Regions from separate parts of the Homo sapiens genome. Here region 2 is linked to region 1. The links are contacts of gene promoters, found by promoter capture Hi-C in blood cells and fetal thymus (Javierre and others, 2016). All regions are on one chromosome and are shown on one strand. Each heading gives the region's core, a stretch centred on a gene start or on the middle of the fragment in contact. The rest is flanking DNA. Distances are from core to core; before and after follow the strand shown.

Evidence for each region. The method cuts DNA at HindIII sites, captures the fragments that hold promoters and counts their contacts. A CHiCAGO score of 5 or more calls a contact.
Region 2: a fragment that was not itself captured here is called in contact with the fragment with the promoter of OTUD4 in region 1 in 1 of 17 cell types (total CD4 T cells); the score reaches 5.5 in total CD4 T cells.

Annotation. Positions count from the first base shown.
Region 1 is chr4:145,178,589-145,183,879 of GRCh38, forward strand. OTUD4 (OTU deubiquitinase 4) reads right to left here and starts at 2,001. Exons shown (of 21, transcript NM_001366057.1): 1 at 1,227-2,001. The coding sequence starts at 1,385. It overlaps LOC124900794 (a long non-coding RNA gene), which reads left to right and starts at 3,605. Exons shown (of 2, transcript XR_007058294.1): 1 at 3,605-4,843; 2 at 4,946-5,291. RefSeq lists enhancers at 1,103-1,932, 1,933-2,762 and silencers at 1,108-1,567, 1,688-1,917, 2,008-2,407. The HindIII fragment of the contact is 3,984 bases long and covers 1-3,722 here.
Region 2 is chr4:139,557,749-139,563,039 of GRCh38, forward strand. No RefSeq gene overlaps it. Among named protein-coding and RNA genes, the nearest start is that of SETD7, 4.2 kb to the left of the region's middle. The HindIII fragment of the contact is 1,212 bases long and covers 1,964-3,175 here.

The DNA.
Region 1 (5,291 bases), core at 751-3,250:
CAGAGCCTGGTTTGGGGAGCTTTTGGAAGAATTTTTCAATGACAATGTCCGCAACATAAAGCAACGGTTTGTGTCCGTTAAATCAATTTCTTGTTTTAAAGAAAGATTTTACGCTACCTATGGTAAATAAATGGCTTGCCTTTCAATGTTTAAAAATGAGAACAGACTGGCCTCCACATGTTAAGTAAAACATTTACTCACAAATAGAAATTTTAAAAGTTATTTAGCATTCAAAAAAGGTGAGGGAAAAGAAAACAGAAACATCATAAAAACCCCACAGGCGGGTAGGGAGGGGTGTGCAATGGGGTGTGGGGAGCAGGTCCTAGGTCAAAGGAAAGCACATGTGAATCGTCTGAAAGACACACCAGAGCAGAAACTTTTATCCAGCTACTTCGGCAGCTATTTTTCAATATAGGATGGGTTTTGGTGACTGCACACCTACAACACACAGTGTTATATAACATGGAATAAGCTCGCTCAAAAAAAAAAATTCAGAAAAATCTTCCTGAGCAACTGTGTTAGAAAATGGTTTTGAAAAGCTCCAGTTACACGTACCCTTTCTACTACCAACATCAAAACAGGCTTTTTTAAAAAAGTCAGTTCTGTTTAGTATACCTACACAGCCCAGCAGAGCATAATAAAGGGTGGAACCTACTCAAGACAAATCCTTCAAAATATTCTATATTTGTAAAAGGCTGGTTTTCTCAAACGGCAGTTTGCCCATTTGATTCAAGTGACATGGGCGAGCTTGCCTACCCTACATTCCAAAGTCCAGCAGCAAACCAAAATATGTTCCACAAGTAAAGTTTGATCCACCACTTCTAGTAAACACTTGGTTTACTGGAGTGGGGTGAGCGTGGTGCTTCTCAAACGAAGGGAAGGAAGGTGAATGCGGAACAAAAGTAAAAAATATCATGTCGCCAGGTCCCCAGCAATAAATCAACTGTACAAGCTCCGAGCAGGCCTCACAAGTTGTCCTCAACTCATTACCTCTTCATCAGGAGAGAGACACCCCGTTAATTTGCGGGCTTTCGAGTTTCAATTTGCACCTTTCAGACGCAAAGCAGCGTCCCACTCCGGCGTTACAATGGGGCGCTGTGACGACAGCCAGGGCACGCGCAGCCCCGGCCGTGGGCGGCCCGGACAGCCCGCAGCTGCCTCCCCACCCAGACCCGCCGGGCCGTCCCCGCCTCCCCTCGAAGCCCTCCCCGCCCCCCCGCAATTACCTGCTCCGCCACGGCCCGGAACAGGCACGACCCGTCCTTGGCGACCAGTTTCCGATACAAGCCCAGTTTCCGCAGATAGGCGTCCATGGGCGTCGCGTCCTCGCGGGGCCCCGCGCCGCCCTGGTCCCCGCCGTCGGGGACGCCGACGGCAGCCTCCATGTTGCTGGTCCTGCTGCAGGCCAGGCGCGGCGAGGGCTAGCCCCACATGGCCAGGCCGCCGGCTGCTCGACGCCCCGGCCTGGGGCAGGCGGCGGCTCGGGCTGGGGCTCGGGCTCCGCGAGCGGCGGCAGGCGGCGGCGGCCCGAGGCAGCGGTCCGCGCTCTCCGGGCGCATAGGGAAGCCCTGCCTAATGCATGGCTGTCCGCACGCGGCCGCCTCCTCGGAGCGAACACGCGCCCACGACAAACGGGGGGAGCGGGATTAAGGAAAACCCCGAGAGTGAGTAGTCACTTCCCGACGGCCTCGCTGCCTGACTCAGGACCCAGGCCGGGGGTCGCCGCCCCCACAAGTTTCCTCCTCCGTACCGGTGTGAAGCGAGAAAACCCCCGCCCCTGGCGCGCACGCTGGGCCGGCTCAGGTGAAGCGGGGCCTGCGCCCCCGCGCACTCCCCACGCCGGGAGCCGAGGAAACCAAAAAGAAAGACGCGGCCTTTCGTTTCCCCACCTCGCTGGAGGGCGCCGGAGGGGCAGGGAGCGGGTGGGGGCGCCCGGGAGAGAACAGCACCTCGCAGCCCAGAATTTGTTTTCGCTTTCGGCCCGACAGCGGAGAGGACGGCGGGAGATGTAGTCTTGGCAGCCGCAGGAAGTCGGCTTGCGGCGGGCGGGGACGCGCTGGCCGGCCTACCCGGGGGAGGTGCCCGGGAGGCGCGCGGACTACAAGTCCCTACAGCGCGGGCGCGCCGCCGCCACCGCCACCGCCCCAAGCCGGCTTCGCGCTGCACTGGCGCCGCGTCCGCGAGCAGGCCGAGGGGCTCCGCCGGCCGATGTGGGGCGACCTGCGCGCGCCACCCGCCAACCCTGCCGCTGCGCCGCGGGAATCGCGCGCGCCGGGCTGGCGTGGAGTTGCCAGGGACACGGCGGCGCAGTGTCGGCCCTTTGTGTATTTCTTTCCAGAGGGCGCACCTGTCTGCTCCCTTCCCCCCGGCCTGCTCTCCTGGTGTTTCCATGGAGGTGGCTTTAACGGCTTAAGCAGAAAATAGAGCTAATTGGCTGAGGCTCCGGGAACTGGCACGGTGCGGGACGACACACTCTGTCCATAAATCAACCGTGGACTGCTGATTGCTATTAGTAGTACAGCTCACGTACTACGGCAAGATGAAGGCTTTGCCAAAGACATTTTTGTTCACCCTGTCACTGTAGCTGAGCACCCCATCACAGAGACATGTCACTGTCGGAAGACGTTAGGGTTTTTTTTTCCCCCTTAAAAAATTCATCTTGTAAATTGCTTGATAACATGCTGACTGGACTGGCCATGGCTTCCACCAGTGCTCGAGGCTTCAGCTCAACTTCCCACCCTCCGACGTTGAATGGCAGGGAATTGACAAAGTTAAATTATGCTTTAGAACCCAGAATTTATCCAGCATGCTTCTGTTGCACCAAAATTTTATTTTGCTAAGATACAACATCTGGTGTCCTTATTTAAATACATGGTTAATCATAGGAACTAATTCAGTCTTTTAGGCTATGGTGGAGGAGAGGGAGAAGAAAAGGGAGCATTACTATAGGTTTAGACATGTAGTCAAATACCTTGGAATGGGGGGCAAGGCAGGCCAGGTGGTGAGAGTCCAACGACAAAAATTTTTTAAAAACTACGTTAGACACTTTTCAGTATTTTCAGTGCAAGCAATCAGTCATGTATTCACTTTCCTTGGAGCGTCTTTGATTTCTTAATGTTTAAATATTGTATCTCAAATTATGCTGCTTTTAGAGAATACAAACGTTATCGTTACCTAAATGAAAAAATGTCCCTGCCTCAAATTTACTTGTTGTAGCGAAGAAACACTTTGAAATCAGGTTTAGAAAAGTATAGTTTCAGCTGGGCGTGGTGGCTCACGCCTGTAATCCCAGCACTTTGGGAGGCCGAGGCAGCCCGGTCACCTGAGGTCAGGAGTTCGAGACCAGCCTGACCAACATGGAGAAACCCCGTCTCTACTAAAAATACAAAATTAGTCGGGCGTGGTGGCACATGCTACTCGGGAGGCTACTCCCAGCTACTCGGGAGGCTGAGGCAGGAGAATAGCTTGAACCCAGGAGGCAGAGGTTGCGGTGAGCCGAGATCCCAACATTGCATTCCAGCCTGGGCAACAAGAGCGAAACTCCGTCTCAAAAAAAAAAAAAAAAAAACGGAAAAGAAAAATATAGCTTCAAGTCAAACCTGTTGCTTTTCTTTTTAAAATACACTTACATTGCATATACTTCTCATTCTTCTCAAAAAAAAAAAAATTCCTGAGTATTGCCACTACTTAAAACATGGATCGCCCTTGTTTTTGAGTTTAAAAGCTTGCCTTTTAAACTCAAAGAGAAACTCAAAGTAATATCTAAACTCCTGCTGAATGAATGTAGAACAACCTCACTCTAAGCTGGCTGCTTCTGGTTCCAAAATTAGAAGTGATGCACCTGTTATATCTGACCCTGGGCCTGTTTAAGGAAATCCTTTAGGTATTTTGAGACTTAATCCAAGACAGACCCTCTGTATGCCAACTTCCCAAATATAGCTCAGCGTTAAGGCAATATTAGAGGATCCTATGTCTTTAAACTGCACCAAAACTTAGAGAAACTCACTTAACTTTCAAAGGATCTTTGCTTGTTGACATTAACTTCTGAACCTTTTCAAGAAACCAAACCAGAGTTGATGAATGTTTATTCTAAGGAAGCCATTTCTGACTGTGTGAAGAACTCTAAACAGACATCATTTTAATCAAATAATACCTGAAAGATTCAATGCTTTTGAGACCTAATGAAATTATAAAATTAAACTTATGCAAAGGAGTCAACCAACTTTTTTCTTCTTGTGCAAAGTCAATGCCTTAAGTTTGTTTACTCTGACAAACTTTAGGGCTAATAATTGTACTAGATAGAATTTTTTAAATTGTTTTTAAACTTCATAGATTGATAGATTTTATGGAGTTTTGTTTTTTCCAACAATACCTAAGGTTAGGTATTGTAGTAGGCAGCCTCTAAAATGCCCCACTCCCGACCCCCACCAAGTGATTCCCACTTCCTGGTATTCACACTCATATAATCACCTCCACCTTGTAACAGGATTGGTCTGAGTGACCAATAGAATAGAGCAAAAGTAGTGGTATGTCACTTCTGAGATTAGGTTATAAGAGACATTTTTGGCATTTTGATTGGCCTCTCATACTCCCTGTCTCATGGGTCACTCATGCTGGTGGAACCTGGCTGCTATGTGTCAGATTTACAGAGAGGTTCCCCTTGTAAGAAACTGGAGCCTGCTTTCCTCCAGCAGTCATGTGAGTCAGCTTTGAAGCGAATCCTCCAGCCCAGTCAGGTTTTCAGACAACTCCAGCGTTGGCCAAAATCTTGACTACAACCTCAGGAGAAACCCTGGCCAGAACTACCCAGATAAGCTCTGAAATTCTTGACCTCAGAAACTGGGTGAGATAGTGTTTATTTTAAGCTCCTAAATTTAGTCGTAATTTGTTACATGGCAATAGATAAATAATACAGATATAATTCTTCATTATTTGTCTTTACTAGATAGAGAATGAATGCATTTTGACAATTCGTGAAAATAATCACTAGTTTAGTATCCGTGGTTGTACCAGTTCTCTGAATTCTAAAGATGAAAAGGTAAGTTATTTTACCAAAGAGTCAAAATAGTAAGTAATAGGATTTCTTTTGAATCTATGAAATCTCTTACAAAAATAGAGTAACCTAAGAATGTCTTTATTGCCACATAGCATTGTTTCATTTTCTACAAAAATTCAAGTAATGGAATCCTACTCAAAAAATGTATTTTATGAAGAAAGACCTGTTTCTTCTGGATCTTATCTGCCAGAGGCTGCTAATTGTCGTTCTCCACTTCCCATTTGATTTCCCCTGA
Region 2 (5,291 bases), core at 1,320-3,819, 5.6 Mb before region 1:
TTAGAAAGGGGAGGGTCCTGGACCAGAAGTTAGGAGACTTGAGTCCTGGTGCTGCTCACCTGCAGAGGTGTCTTGGGAGCCCAGCCAGCCAGCCTGAATTCCTCCAGATTAGAGGCTTAGTCTACATTGACATAAGGTCCTTGGGGCTTAGGCTAGAGCACTCTGAGGTTCTTTGGCTCAAGCAAGACACCCTCTAGCTTAGTCTATACCTCTCTGAAGTCTCTTGGCTTAGGTTTGACCTCCTTAAAGTCCTCCAGTGCAGATACTGGGAGTCCAAGGCTAAACAGAGAAGGTGTACGTGCAGTGGAAGATGAAAGAGCCACTTTAGGTTACATCATTTTCAAACATGAACCACAGAAACAGGATTTTATATCTGATTTTTAAAAAGCCATCATTTACTGAGCTCGGTCACTCACTGGTTTTGAATTATATGATATTTTTTCTCATTTAACCTTTTTACATATCACCCCCTCCCTTGCATATTATACTGGTGCACTAAAACATACCAGATACTCGTCTTCCCCAGTTTCCAGTTGATTTTCAGGGTGAAAAACAATGCTGAAAGCTGAAGGAAGCAGCAAAAAGACTTTATTCTCTTACTCAAAGGCAGTGAGGCAGGGCTGGGAGGCTGGAAGAAATCTCTCAAGACGTACAGAAGACACAGTTTCATGGTGGGTGGGTACGTGTGGGAGTGAAGGAGAGGGGAGGAATCATGTTGCAAGTGTCCAACTGTCCCCTTGGTGCTGTGAGGTTTTCCCAGCCTGTACTAAGCACCCAAACTGTCAAGCGCTCCCTTTCTACCTACTACCTTGAGAACACCTGAAACCCTGCCTACGGCACCCCCCAACCCCGGCCCCCGCCGTCGGTGAAGCAGGGGTCCTCTGGACCTACAAGAGGCAGGGACAGGAAGGGAGCAGGGTCTTTCTAGCAAAGTCAGTAGTGATGCGGGGTCAAACTACAGAGAACCTTCACCAGATCTGCACATGAGGCAGGCAGCAGCAGGGACACAGTCCCATCCCTCTTCCCCCACCATTCATTCCTGCTGGCTCTGGGCCCAAAGCTGGGGCAAAATGTTTTTATGACTCTCTTAAGATCCACTTGTATCTTTACAAATCATGTTGTGTATGTTTCGAGTCTCCTTCTCTAGACGGACTGATTCTTATTTATGGTCCTAGAACACAACACAGTGCCTGGTACAGAATGTGGGTTAAGCATTGTCAGCAATGATTTTGCAGATAGGAATATTCTGTTTTATATAAACAGTGCTGAGGCTTTCTCACAGACTGGATTCTCCTCCTATGTTTTGGCAAAGTGCTTTGTTTCAGTTCAAATCTGAAGAGCATTTTTGAGTTGTTCTACTTTCCCACATCGACTGGCCCCAAATCTGCTTCCATCGCATTCTTTCCCACAGTTTTCTTCATTGAGAGCTGATTTCATAAACTCTCTTTCTACTTGGCTTTCCACCAGTTTCCCCTGTCGTACTCTGTCCCCACCAATGTGGTCATGGGCTAGAAAATCAATAAAACTCTTAATCACAAACAATGTGCAGCAGCAACAGCAGCAGCAGAAGTAGTGTGGCTCAGCTCCTAACTTGGCAGATCCCAGTGAGACAGAACAAGCTCTACCAGGGAGGAACGGGACCGCACAGGACATCCAACATCTAGGCTGGGTGAGACTTGCTTTCATGTTCACACTGAGAGTGACTTTTTTTTCCCTGTCTTTGGTCTTGAATCAGGAGGAGGGGTGACTTTTCTAAGCTGCTCTGGCTTAGTTTCCATTGCCTCCAAGGCTATATTCCTTCTCTTCATACCCAGCTTGGGAAACATAATTCCCTCTTCCATTGCAGCAAGCAGTCAAAATACTGAGTTAATTTTATTCATTCTACCACCCCTGTCTTTCCCTGGAGAAGGCTGGTGCTTACATACAAGACTGATATAACTTTTGCAATAAATATATTTTTACAAGCTTCTTGTATTTTATGCACCTTCCTACATTTAGGGGAAACAATTCTGTCAATTCGCTGCTATGCATGCTAAGCGAATTGTGAAACAAGTAGTGAATGTGGAACTTATGTGGGATTCACTACTGTTGGCTGTTACTGACTCCTCATCCTGCCCGCTGGCAGGGAGTGGAGGGGCCCAAGCAGTCTTCTGGGTCTCCATGTATTTGGGAGGGAGGAGCCTCTGAGACCTCAGCGGTAGGAAGTCGCATCAGAGCCTCTCCAGAAGCCCTGGTGGCTTTATGGTTGCTGGCCTGGCTCTGGTTTCCATCACTTGCTTACACCGCCAGCAGGATGACAAGGATAAAATTAGTGAAAGACCTTTTAAATAATCATCAAGTCTCGTTTTGGCACTGCTCACTCCTTCACAAGATTTTTTCCCACCAAATTAGCCAGTTTGATTGAGTTTTTGCTTTGTCTGTTTTGGTTCCACCAAGAACTAGCCAAGCAACTGGGCAATTCAGTTCTGCGGGGGCCGGGGGGGGGGCCTTCGTTTTCCCATCTGTAAATGAAGAGTTGGGCTACATAAATTCGAAGCTCAAACCTTCTCTGTCCACCTTTTCTGGAGAAAAGGTAAATAGAGCCTGAGAAGCCCCAGGAAAAGGCACATAAAAAGGAAATGGGAAGAAGCCAGGGCAACTCCAACAAACTGAATACTCAAGTCCTCTCACGTTAATGGCTCTATCTGGGCAGGCAGGTGAGGGGAGAACCTTTATCTTGACTCTAGGGAGGGAAGCATGGAAGTTTTAGGAGAACCAAGGTTCCTGGGTTCTGAATCACTGAGTCACTAATCAAGTGGCTAACTGTGTTAGTGACAACTGCAGAAGCTGGAGGGAGGGGCTGGGAGAGGAGCAGCGAGGAGGAGACGGGTGGGGGAGGAGATGGGGATGAAAGGGAAGCGTTTGCAGCTTGTGGAGCACTGGGAAGAGCAGGGACATCAAGGGCACCAAATAAAGGTCCAGGGAGCAAAGAAAGAAATGGAGAAAATTCATTCTGCTGGAAATAGACATGAGTGCAGTCAGGAAGAAGACTTACAGATTCAGGGTGACCTGATTTGATTACAGCAACAGGAAGTGCAAGAGAGAGAGGGCAGAATAACCTGACCTAAGGAAGTGAATTAAATAATAGAGAAGACACCACAGTTGCCATGGTATTAAAATACCTCATGCCACATTAAGCTTCCTCTTTCTCTTTTGCTTGATTCTTGTTTTTGCAACATGTTAATGTTGCAATGACATGTTAATGTCATTGCAGGGTATCCAGTAAACTAAATTTAGACTTTCTGGGGCGGGGAGGGGAGGGAAGATGCAGCCCAGATCTCCCTGTTTGGGTCGACTCTGGGCCAATATTGTTCCTTCACAGAGTTCTTGGGGTTTTTTGCATTATGGGATATGAAAACTCTTATGTCAGGCTTGGGCCTAGTGAAGCTGCTGAGTGAAATGATTGAAAAAAAAAAAATGAGGCCAGGCACGGTGGGTCACGCCTGTAATTCCAGCGCTTTGGGAGACAGAGGCAGGTGGATCACCTGAGGTCAGGAGTTCATGACCAGCCTGGCCAACATGGTGAAACCCTGTCTCTACTAAAAATACAAAAATTACAAAAATACAAAAACTGGTGGTGCATGCCTGTAGTCCCAGCTACTTGGGAGGCTGAGGAAGGAGAATCACTTGAACCTGGGAGGCGGAGGCTGCAATGAGCCGAGATGGCATCACTGCACTGCACTCCAGCCTGGGCCACGGAGTGAGACTCCATCTCAAAAAAACAAACAACAACAAAAAAAACCCTCACACACACACACACACACACAAAGAAAAATTGGAAATAGTTTTCAAAGGGGCATCTGTTTTAGAAATTACTTTAGAAAAACAATAGGATTGCAGAAACTTGAAAAATAAAGACAAACCGCCACCAAAACCAAATGTGTTTTCATAGATATTATTTTCTCTAATTGTTTTTGAAAAATTACTTTACTAGGCTAAAATTAAGATTATTGAGTCCTGCAATTGGTCCTCTGCAAAAGTAGACATTGCAGAGGGCAGGTACATGGTATACTCTTTTGACACTACAATATCCAGGATGGGCAGAGGAGTATTTCCAGCTGACCTATTTACCACAAATGTCATAACATTCATCAAGGGTCAGCTCTTGACCTTCCTCAAGTGGACTCACATTAACTAGACCCCGAGAGACTGAGATGTATGCCTGAATTATGATGGACAGATCAGAATACTCACACTGTCAGGGCAAAAGATCTCTCTATATAAATAAATGCACTTGAGAAGACAAATTCCATCCAAAAGTTTGCTTAGTTATCTGGAGTAGAATGAAGGACATTAGTTGTGTGGTCCACAAGACAAATACTCTGATACAGTGTTCTGAAAGAATGAGGCTGCCCACCCATCCCACTCACCTCTGCTTAGATGGGCCCTATGGCTTCTGAGGCTTCAAGCTTCTTTCTCCGTGCTCTAGTTTCTCCAAACCTGATTCTCCACACAGCGTCCTATACAGCCCATTAGGCAGATTTACACTTTCTAAGTCATAATGACATTCTCTATCTTCCTGGCATTACAGCCAAGTCACTTTAATGGGAATTTGAGGTAATCCTCAAACTTCTCAGTCACAAATTGAGTCACTCTCTTGGTTTATGCCCACTGAATTCTAGTCAAAACCATTGAGTGTGCAGATTTTGGTAGTCAAACTTTCTGAGAGCAACCTGGTTCTCAAGTTCTTGGGAAAGCACCTCATTTCTGCTTCACAAGCCATCAACAGTGGGCCAACCTTCTTAGGCTACCATGATTTCTGAGAAAGAGACCAGAGACATATTAAGACCCACGTGGCCTGTCCTGTGATACAGTCATCCAAGTTTTCCTGGGCACTCAGCTCAAAGATATTTCTATTCTGTGCAGGAGTGGAGAGGTTGGCTCTTTGCTATGATAGCTTAGGCAACGGAACGCCACCTTGAGGATGCAGATTCCATCTACTATAACATAGATGGAGGGCAAAGTGTCCTCTTCATTTTCCAAATGGGACTGTCTGGCTTTGAATCCAATATCCAGAAATGAAAATACCCATGTGGTCCTCTTCACTCAGTCACAAACAAAGACAGGTTGATTAGAGTGTTTCTGGGACCTGGCACTGAAATGACAACCCTCGATCTACAGGCAGCCCTCACCCGGAGGTGCTTGATGCTAAGCCAGCCCTTCCTGTATGTATTTGCTGGAGACCTGTCTTGCAGCCTCTTTGGATCTGGCGTGTCCTTTCAGGTCATTTAAGGTCTTATTGATCCTCCTTG